3 separate regions of the Homo sapiens genome follow, and regions 1 and 2 are each linked to region 3. The links are contacts of gene promoters, found by promoter capture Hi-C in blood cells and fetal thymus (Javierre and others, 2016). All regions are on one chromosome and are shown on one strand. Each heading gives the region's core, a stretch centred on a gene start or on the middle of the fragment in contact. The rest is flanking DNA. Distances are from core to core; before and after follow the strand shown.

Region 1 (2,700 bases), core at 33-2,532, 1.1 Mb before region 3:
CTTTATTCATAAATTTGTTAGGATGTCCACCAACACACACAATCACAAATAGATTACTAATCTTTGGTAATCTTAATTTTCTCAAGAATTGAAGGGTGTTTAGATACAGAGGACAATGAGGGGAGGTGGATTTAAGATAATATTAAGAATCAAAAACTGCTATGCTAGTGTTTTATATTTAAATCTAAGTCATCTTAGTAACTGAATTCATATATCTATCCAGATAGTGGGGAAAACACCATTAAAAAGAACATTGTTGGCCAGGCATGGTGGCTCATGCCTGTAATCCCAGCACTCTCGGAGGCCGAGGCAGATGGGTCACTCTTGAGGTCAAGAGTTCAAGACCAGTCTGGCCAACATGGCAAAACCCCATCTCTACTAAAAATACAAAAATTAGCCGGGCTTAGTGGCATGTGCCGGTGGTCCCAGCTGAGGCAGGAGAATTGCTTGAACCCAGGATGCAGAGGTTGCAGTGAATTGAGATCCCGCCACTGCACTCCAGCCTGGGCAGCAGAGCAAGACCCTGTCAAAAAAAAAAAAAGAACATTTTCCCAGTATGGAAATACTTGAGAATTTTCAAAACAAAAAACTGTTTTTGTTTTATCAAATGCACCTTAAGGACATTCAATGACTCTGGGGCAATGATGCCGTTTAGGGCAGTTATCTTTGTATGGTGCCCATGATCTGGAAAAACAGGCCCTGGCACCAAAGGCCAACGTCACCACTGGCCTGTCCCGTTGGGCAGGAAATAATGGATTTCAGAGGCTGGAATGAAGGAAAGCCCAAACTAACAACAGAGTTAGAAAAATGTTTTCAGCCTGTAGTCCCAGCTACACCAGAGGCTGAGGTAGGAGGATCAGGTGACCCCAAGATGTCAAGGCTACAGTGAGCCATGTTGATGCCACTATACTCCAGCCTGAGTGACAGAGGAAGACCCTGTCTCAAGAAAAAAAAAAAAAAAAGGCCACGTGCAGTGGCTCACACCTATAATTTTAGCCCTTTAGGAGGCTGAGGCAGACAGATCACTTGAGACCAGCCTAGGCAACATGGTGAAACCCCATCTCTACAGAAAAATTAGCCAGGCATGGTGGCGCACGCCTGTAGTCCCAGCTACTCAGGAGGCTGAGGCGGGAGGATCAACTGAGCACAGGAGGTTCAGACTGCAGTTAGCCGTGGTGGAAAGAAAGGCAGAAAGACAGAAAGAAAGAAAAAAGAAAAATGTTTTCAAAATCAATCAAGCCTCTAAAATGTGTCCAATTAAAATCCACTGATCTATTAAAATGGAATTCTATCTCAAAAAATATAATTTTAAGAGAGACCATGAGAGCAGCATACCTCCTCTACTCAAAAAACTATTATGACTTAGAGATGAGCCATGATAAATTCAAAGCACAGGGAAAAGTTCCATATCAAATCACATATTTCCAAGCCCCTTATCCAAAAGCACCGCTGAAAGAATTCTATTTCGATCACACTACTAACTACCTGTGAGAACGGCAAACACCTTTTAGTTTTAGTTCTTCCTTTTTACCAATAGGTGGCAAGATTTATTGCTAAGACAATTTAGGCAAAGGATTCAGCTTCAGAAAGACTGCCTTTCCTCTCCCCTCTTAAGGCTCAGCATTTTTTTTTTTCTCTTACTAATGAGCTATTTGACAGTAATCATAAAACCAAAATATTTGTTATTTATTAAGCTACTGCAATTTTGGATTTGTAAAGGAAAAAGAAGTCCTGGAAATCTTTTAAAAAGACACACAACGTGGTGGCAGGCGCCTGCAGTCCCAGCTACTCGGGAGGCTGAGGCAGGAGAATGGCGTGAACCCAGGAGGCGGAGCTTGCAGTGAGCCAAGATCGCACCACTGCACTCCAGCCTGGGCGACAGAGCGAGACTCCGTCTCAAAAAACAAAAAATAAAAAAGACACACATGGACGGGCGCGGTGGCTCACGCCTGTAATCCCAGCACTTTGGGAGGCTGAAGCGGATGGACCGTTTGAGGTCAGGCGTTCCAGACCAGCCTGGCTAACATGGTGAAACCCTGTCTCTACTAAAAATACAAAAATTAGCTGGGCGTGGTGGCGGGCACCGGTAATCTCAGCTACCTGGGGGGCTAAGGCAGGAGAATCGCTTGGGCCCGGGAGGCAGAAGTTGCAGCGAGCCGAGATCGCGCCACTGCACTGCGGCTTGGGCGACGAGTAAAACTCTGTCTCAAAAAAAAAAAAAAAAAATATACACACCAAGTGGACAAAGCAAAAGAGACTCTGCAGGGAAGGGGATGGCTAGGCATAGTTTTGACATTATTATGACTTCCAAATAAGGTATAAAGTATAGAATACACCCATACAGCATACTAAAGACTTTGGAATGGCTCACAACCAAACTTGTACGGTAATGAAGATATATAATGTAAAAAGAATACAGGTGTTTACCAGAAAACATCCTTCAAGGGACAAGACTTATAAATGCAATGGAAACTGTCTCAAGAAACAAAACTTTATTCCAGTGGTCTCTTTGGGGAAACATGTACACAGCTATTCAGCAAATTCACTGTCACCTTCATTGCAACTGAAGAGAATAAATACTCAAGTATGTGTCTTAGAAAGAACTGGTCAGTCCATGCTTACTAACTTATGTAATTCTGCAATAATCTAACTTCATTTCTTCTTTGGACAGCCTCAAAAAAGGTGAAGAAGAGTTCATTA
Region 2 (2,700 bases), core at 162-2,661, 1.0 Mb before region 3:
GGCCACAGTTCAGTAACATATATGAATCAAAGTGGGATAGTTACAGCTTTTTCCCCAGCTCCGACTTCCTGGCTACAGTGGATTGGTCTGAAGAAGGACAGATAGTCTACTTGAGTTTCTACCCCAGGATTTTAGGTTTTGTACTGAAAGAGTTAAGATTGTTTCCCTCTGATGTCTGAGCTCTAGGGCTTAAACCTCAGGAGCTGTCACTTGTCATATTTTTGTTCATGTTAAGAAGAAAAGTGATGGGAGCTAGTTTCTGAGAACAGAGAAAGAAAAACAAAGCAGATGCACAAGAGAAGAAGAGCTGGGGAGAGGGAACTGTGAAGTCATGAGTTCGTGATTCTAGCTTTTCCTTAACTCTAGCCACAGATTTATTCTTATATTCCATAAGATACCTTTATATTCTTATAATAATGTTATTTTTGTTTAAACTCATTGGAGTGTGGTTTCTGTTACTTGGCATTAAATATCTTCAGAAATACATAATAGACCGGGTGCAGTGGCTCACGCCTGTAATCCCAGCACTTTGGGAGGCTGAGGTGGATGGATCACCTGAGGTCAGGCATTCAAGACCAGCCTGGCCAACATGGTGAAACCCTGTCTCCACTAAAAATACAAAAAATTAGCTGGGGGTGGTGGCGGGTGTTTGTAATTCCAGCTACTCGGCAGGCTGAGGCAGGAGAATTGCTTGAACCCAGGAGACGGAGGTTGCATTGAGCCGAGATAACACTACTGCACTCCAGCCCAGGTGACAGAGTAAGACTCTGTCTCCAAAAAAAAAAAAAAAAAAGGAAATACATAATATCAAAAATTTTAAAGAGAAGATGAAACAAATAGTTTTGCTAAGAAAGTAGTTATACTTTATGAGAAGTTTATTTTCTTATCAATAAGCTTCTTCAAGTTACAATCGAGGGCTGATTAAGTAGGCCAATGACACGGACTTAGCATGTTCAATAGTTCAAGATTGAGTGAGTTCAAAGGTATTTTTATTGTTGCTTTTGTGGTTATTGTTGCTGTTGTGTGTTTTAATGAATAATCCTTAGCAAGGACTGGTAAATGAAGTACGGGTGACCTACAGAAAAGAGAGGTAAAGAACATGCATGACAAAATGAAAGCAAACCTCACATGCCCAAATGAAAACGTACCCTCACTCTAAACATTTCTGATTCTAGTCCTCGTCCCTGTATCAACAAGTGGCACAATTATCCATCTTGTGTGAGCAGAACACTGATAGTCATTTGCTCTCTTTTTTCCCATTATAGAATCCATCATTTCATCATTCTGCCAGTCTCAGTGTTTTAACCAACTAAAAATCTTGTAAATATATGTATGTTTTTCATCTCCGTTGATGCTACCCTAATCCTCACCTGCACCATTTATCAATAGCAGTCACTGGCTAGACACAGTGGCTCATGTCTATAATCCCAGCACTTTGGGAGGCCGAGGCGGGTGGATAACCTGAGGTCAGGAGTTTGAGACCAGCCTGGCCAACATGGCGAAACCCCATCTCTACTAAAAATGTGAAAACTAGCTGGGCGTGGTGGCAGGCGCCTGTAATCCCAGCTACTTGGGAGGCTGAGGCAGGAGAATCACTTGAACCAAGGAGGCAGAGGTTGCAGTGAGCCGAGATTGTGAGATTGCACTCCAGACTGGATGACAAGAGGGAAACTCCATCTCAAAAAAATAAAAATAAAAAAATAGTTGTCACTGAATTGGTCTCCTTTTTGAACTCTCAATCACTAGCATTGATAACTCCATGGTTCTAGCCAGAGGATGCTTTTTGAAATGTAAATCTGGAAATGGCTTCCAACTCCCTCTAAAGATTCATAGCATACATATTATCTTCAAACATTTTAGTGACTTCTCATTGCTATAGGTCAATGATTCTCACCCTTGTTTTCATGATAAAATCACCTGAAAGCTTTAAAAAAAATACTTATGCCTGGTTCTCACTTCCAGAAGTTTGGATTTGATGGTTCTGGAATGGGATCCTTTAATCAGTATTTTAAAATGCTTTGTAGGTGGTTCTGACATGTAGCCGAAGTTGAAAATAACTGCTCTAGGCATACAGGCCAGAATCCTGATCACAGGCTTACACAATCTTGCCCCCGCTTACTTCTCTTCGCTCGTCACATATCACACCCCCATCCTCTGTTCTCCAGCCATGCTGGTCTTCTTTCGGTTCCTCAAAATCACCACACTCCTTCCTGCTGCTGACTGGGCTTCTGAGCATGTTCTTTCTGTGGAGAACATCCCTGCTTCTTCCGATCTCAGCTCTGCACCACTTCCTTAGGGAAGCCTTCCTTGATCTCTCTGACTAGGTAAATTCCAGGTCCTGGGGTCATCAAACTCTGCACCTTTTCCTTGTGGCATTTGTCACAGTATAGTTTTATATTTATATGTAACTCTTTGAATAATGTTTGTCTTCCCCACTAGAGTATAAACTCCGTGAGGGCAGGGACCATGTTGCCTTTACTCTCCACTGTTATCTCTGCTCTCTATTCTACATTGGGAATGAAGGAGACTCTCTATGTGTTGAGTGATCAAGTGAGCAGTTCGTGATGGGGAGGGTAATGATTACTGAGGGTATTACCGAGGGTAGCCCAGCTGGTTGAGGAATTAAAATTCAGCACCGGCCAGGCGTGGTAGCTCATGCCTGTAATCACAGCACTTTGGGAGGCCAAGGCGGGTGTATCA
Region 3 (2,700 bases), core at 92-2,591:
TCCAATCCCCTCTGCTTTTTAGCATCTTTTCTGAAATCTCCAGATGAACAACATTCTTCGCCCCATCTACTCTTCAGCTCCTTCAGGAGGCAAAGTCCTTTCTTAAACTGTGAAGAGTAGCAGCATAGTCTCTGCAGTGAGATTTTCTGGATCTGAAGCCCTAATCTACCACTCTCTAATTGTGTGGCTTGGAGAGATCATTTAATTTCTCTTAAGCATCAGTTTCTACATCTATAAAATGAGGGAAATAATAATATCTCTCTTATAGAATATATGGAAATATTCGAGGATAGGAAAATGCAGCAAAAAACTGCATTAAACCTGACCCAGTGTCTGACACATAGTAAGGACTCAATAAATGGCAGATACTATAGTCATTTGATTCATCATAGTAATACTGTAGAGGTGGTGGTGGTGGTGGTGGTGGTAGTAGTAGTAGTAGCAGTAGTTAAGTCATTGTGAACTCTGATACTAAGAACTGGGCTCTTGGAAATGGAGTGGGAGAACAGTAACACCAAATATATCCTGTATGCCAGAGGGTTGAAGAACAGACAGAACAGGTAGCTAAATGCAGCCTATTGAGGAATGTTTGAACTTTGGCTTTCTTTAATCATTGCCACATCTTGCTCCATAATAAGGGTAATTGTAATCCTGCTTCAAAGCTATTTCTAAGAAGAAATAGAGCCAAGGCTGGCATCCCTAACTCTACTCTCCTTTAGCCAGGCTGCTCTATCTATGGCAGTGTCCCCTACTTCCCCAGGCCAGGTTAGGAGGGAACAAGAGAGTCCACCCCAACTGCTTTAACAAGCCTGAACCGCCAGGTCAAGAGATGAAGTAATCTTCCCCCTATACGAAGACCAGAGGTGGGGATGGACAAGGTGGCCAAGGCAGCAGCTGAGGCTCAAGGAGCAGATACACTCTCAAGCCTGCTCCCTCCTGCTCCAGTTCCCAGCTCAGCAGGTGCCACTGAAGGGCTCAGTTCTTCAGTCTGCCCCTGCAGAGTGCTCTGCCCTTCCATGTTCTCTGACACCTCTTCTATTCACTCACCTAGGACAACTAAGAAAGTGGCCTCCTTGGTGAGTAGAGCTTCCACAGCCTCTCTCGGGGAAAAGGACCAGAAGCTGTTGGAGTTGGCCAAATGCTTGAAGTTGGCATAAAGTCAATTGGAACCATCACAATGAGAGTCTGTGTGATCAGCCCAAAAGGACTGCACAACTGATTCATGTTCAGTGCCAGGAAATGCAACGGGCCATTCTGGGGTTGGGTCCTCAGTTATTTTTGGCAAAGATGGGTGGTATGCAAAAGGGACTTCCTTTTTTTTTTTTTTTTTTTTTTCCAGCACAGAGCCACAGAATGCTGAGCAGTCAACAGCATTTCTTGTTCCAAGATCACCCTTCTGAGTACCTCTCTGGCTGCCAAATTGCCAGGGCCTTCACAGTTTGATTCCATTTCTCAGCTCCAAGCATTAGGTAAACCCACCAAGCAATCCTAGCCTGTGATGGCGTTTGACGTCAGCTGCTTCTTTTGGGTGGTGCTGTTTTCTGCCGGCTGTAAAGTCATCACCTCCTGGGATCAGATGTGCATTGAGGTGAGTCCAAACTGTTTGTCTTTATGCAGATTAAACTGTCTGAAAATTTTGAGATTTAGCACGCAGTCCAATCTGAGCCTTGGCATCCCAATATCTAGTGTCTTTAAAAAGGAAATAAGGTGTATATATAATTTTTTCATTATTGTGAGAAAGGAGCCAAAGAACTCTGCCAGGGGATCATCTGGTGGCATCTTAATAGGAAGCAAAGAGAATTTTTCTCCTCTTCAAACAATTCCACCCAAATAATCCCAAGTGGGTCATAAGATATTAATAGGGTCTGTGTGCACAAAGCAGACCCCTAAACCTGCCTCAACCTAGGGGAGCTGTTGGTTTAACATCCCCACTCTCACATGGCCTCTATCCCAATGAGTCCTTTGGTCTCCTCTCAGGGTGAGAATTAGTAAAGACAGCGCTGTGCCAGGTTTTCGAGCATTGAAAAGATCACTCTGAATGAGTCTGGCTCTCTCTTGGACTTGGACAGCCTTCCATCTGTTTTACTAACCCATAGGAGGAAAATCTGAGAATAGAGCCAAATTGCACCTTCTGTTTTGGACCATAGCAATATTTATCAACCTGTGGGAAGTTCTTGGAGGGGATAATGAGAGAAAAAGGAGAAGGGCCTCCGTCTCTTGCCATCCTCTAAAATGCTTCAAACTTCCTCCCACTTTCTCTGACCCCACAAGTGATCAATACCACGTGGCCTGTCAGACAAGGGCTGCATACAGGAGGAACCATGAGTCTTGGTGGCTTGGTGAGCTGCTGGTCTGGGTTGAGGTAAAAAGAAGAGTAAGAGCCAGGAATAGCCAGATGTGGAGTTGCCCTGGGGCAGGACTAGAAGGAGATCAGAGGATCAGGAAGAGCAGAGCAAAGCCAGCACTGGGGTAAGGCTCAGAGCTGGGTGAGCAGAGCCTTGTTGGTCTGGCATTAGGATGGAATCAGCAGCAGGCCAAGAGGAGGCATCATGCCAATGAGAAATGAAGGCTGGGAAGGTGTGTGTTGCTTTGCTTGGGCTGTCATAACAAATGCCACAGACTGGGCCAGGCGTGGTGGCTCACGCCTATAATCCCAGCACTTTGGGAGGCCAAGGTGGGTGTATGCCTTGAGACTGGGAG

Evidence for each region. Contacts are between HindIII fragments. The CHiCAGO score rates a contact against its expected background, and 5 or more counts as called.
Region 1: a contact is called between a fragment that was not itself captured here and the fragment with the promoter of CD180 in region 3, in 10 of 17 cell types (total B cells, non-activated CD4 T cells, activated CD4 T cells and 7 more). The highest score is 17.6, in total B cells.
Region 2: a fragment that was not itself captured here is called in contact with the fragment with the promoter of CD180 in region 3 in 2 of 17 cell types (total B cells and naive B cells); the score reaches 12.5 in total B cells.

Annotation. Positions count from the first base shown.
Region 1 is chr5:68,245,840-68,248,539 of GRCh38, reverse strand. All of the region lies in intron 2 of PIK3R1 (phosphoinositide-3-kinase regulatory subunit 1), which reads right to left. Among named protein-coding and RNA genes, the nearest start is that of PIK3R1, 31 kb to the right of the region's middle. The HindIII fragment of the contact is 6,788 bases long and covers 1-2,700 here.
Region 2 is chr5:68,196,565-68,199,264 of GRCh38, reverse strand. It overlaps LINC02219 (long intergenic non-protein coding RNA 2219), which reads right to left. Exons shown (of 3, transcript NR_105003.1): 3 at 858-1,075. Among named protein-coding and RNA genes, the nearest start is that of LINC02219, 8.0 kb to the right of the region's middle. The HindIII fragment of the contact is 1,030 bases long and covers 897-1,926 here.
Region 3 is chr5:67,195,440-67,198,139 of GRCh38, reverse strand. It overlaps CD180 (CD180 molecule), which reads left to right and starts at 1,341. Exons shown (of 3, transcript NM_005582.3): 1 at 1,341-1,588. The coding sequence starts at 1,499. RefSeq lists an enhancer at 2,368-2,517. The HindIII fragment of the contact is 10,485 bases long and covers 1-2,700 here.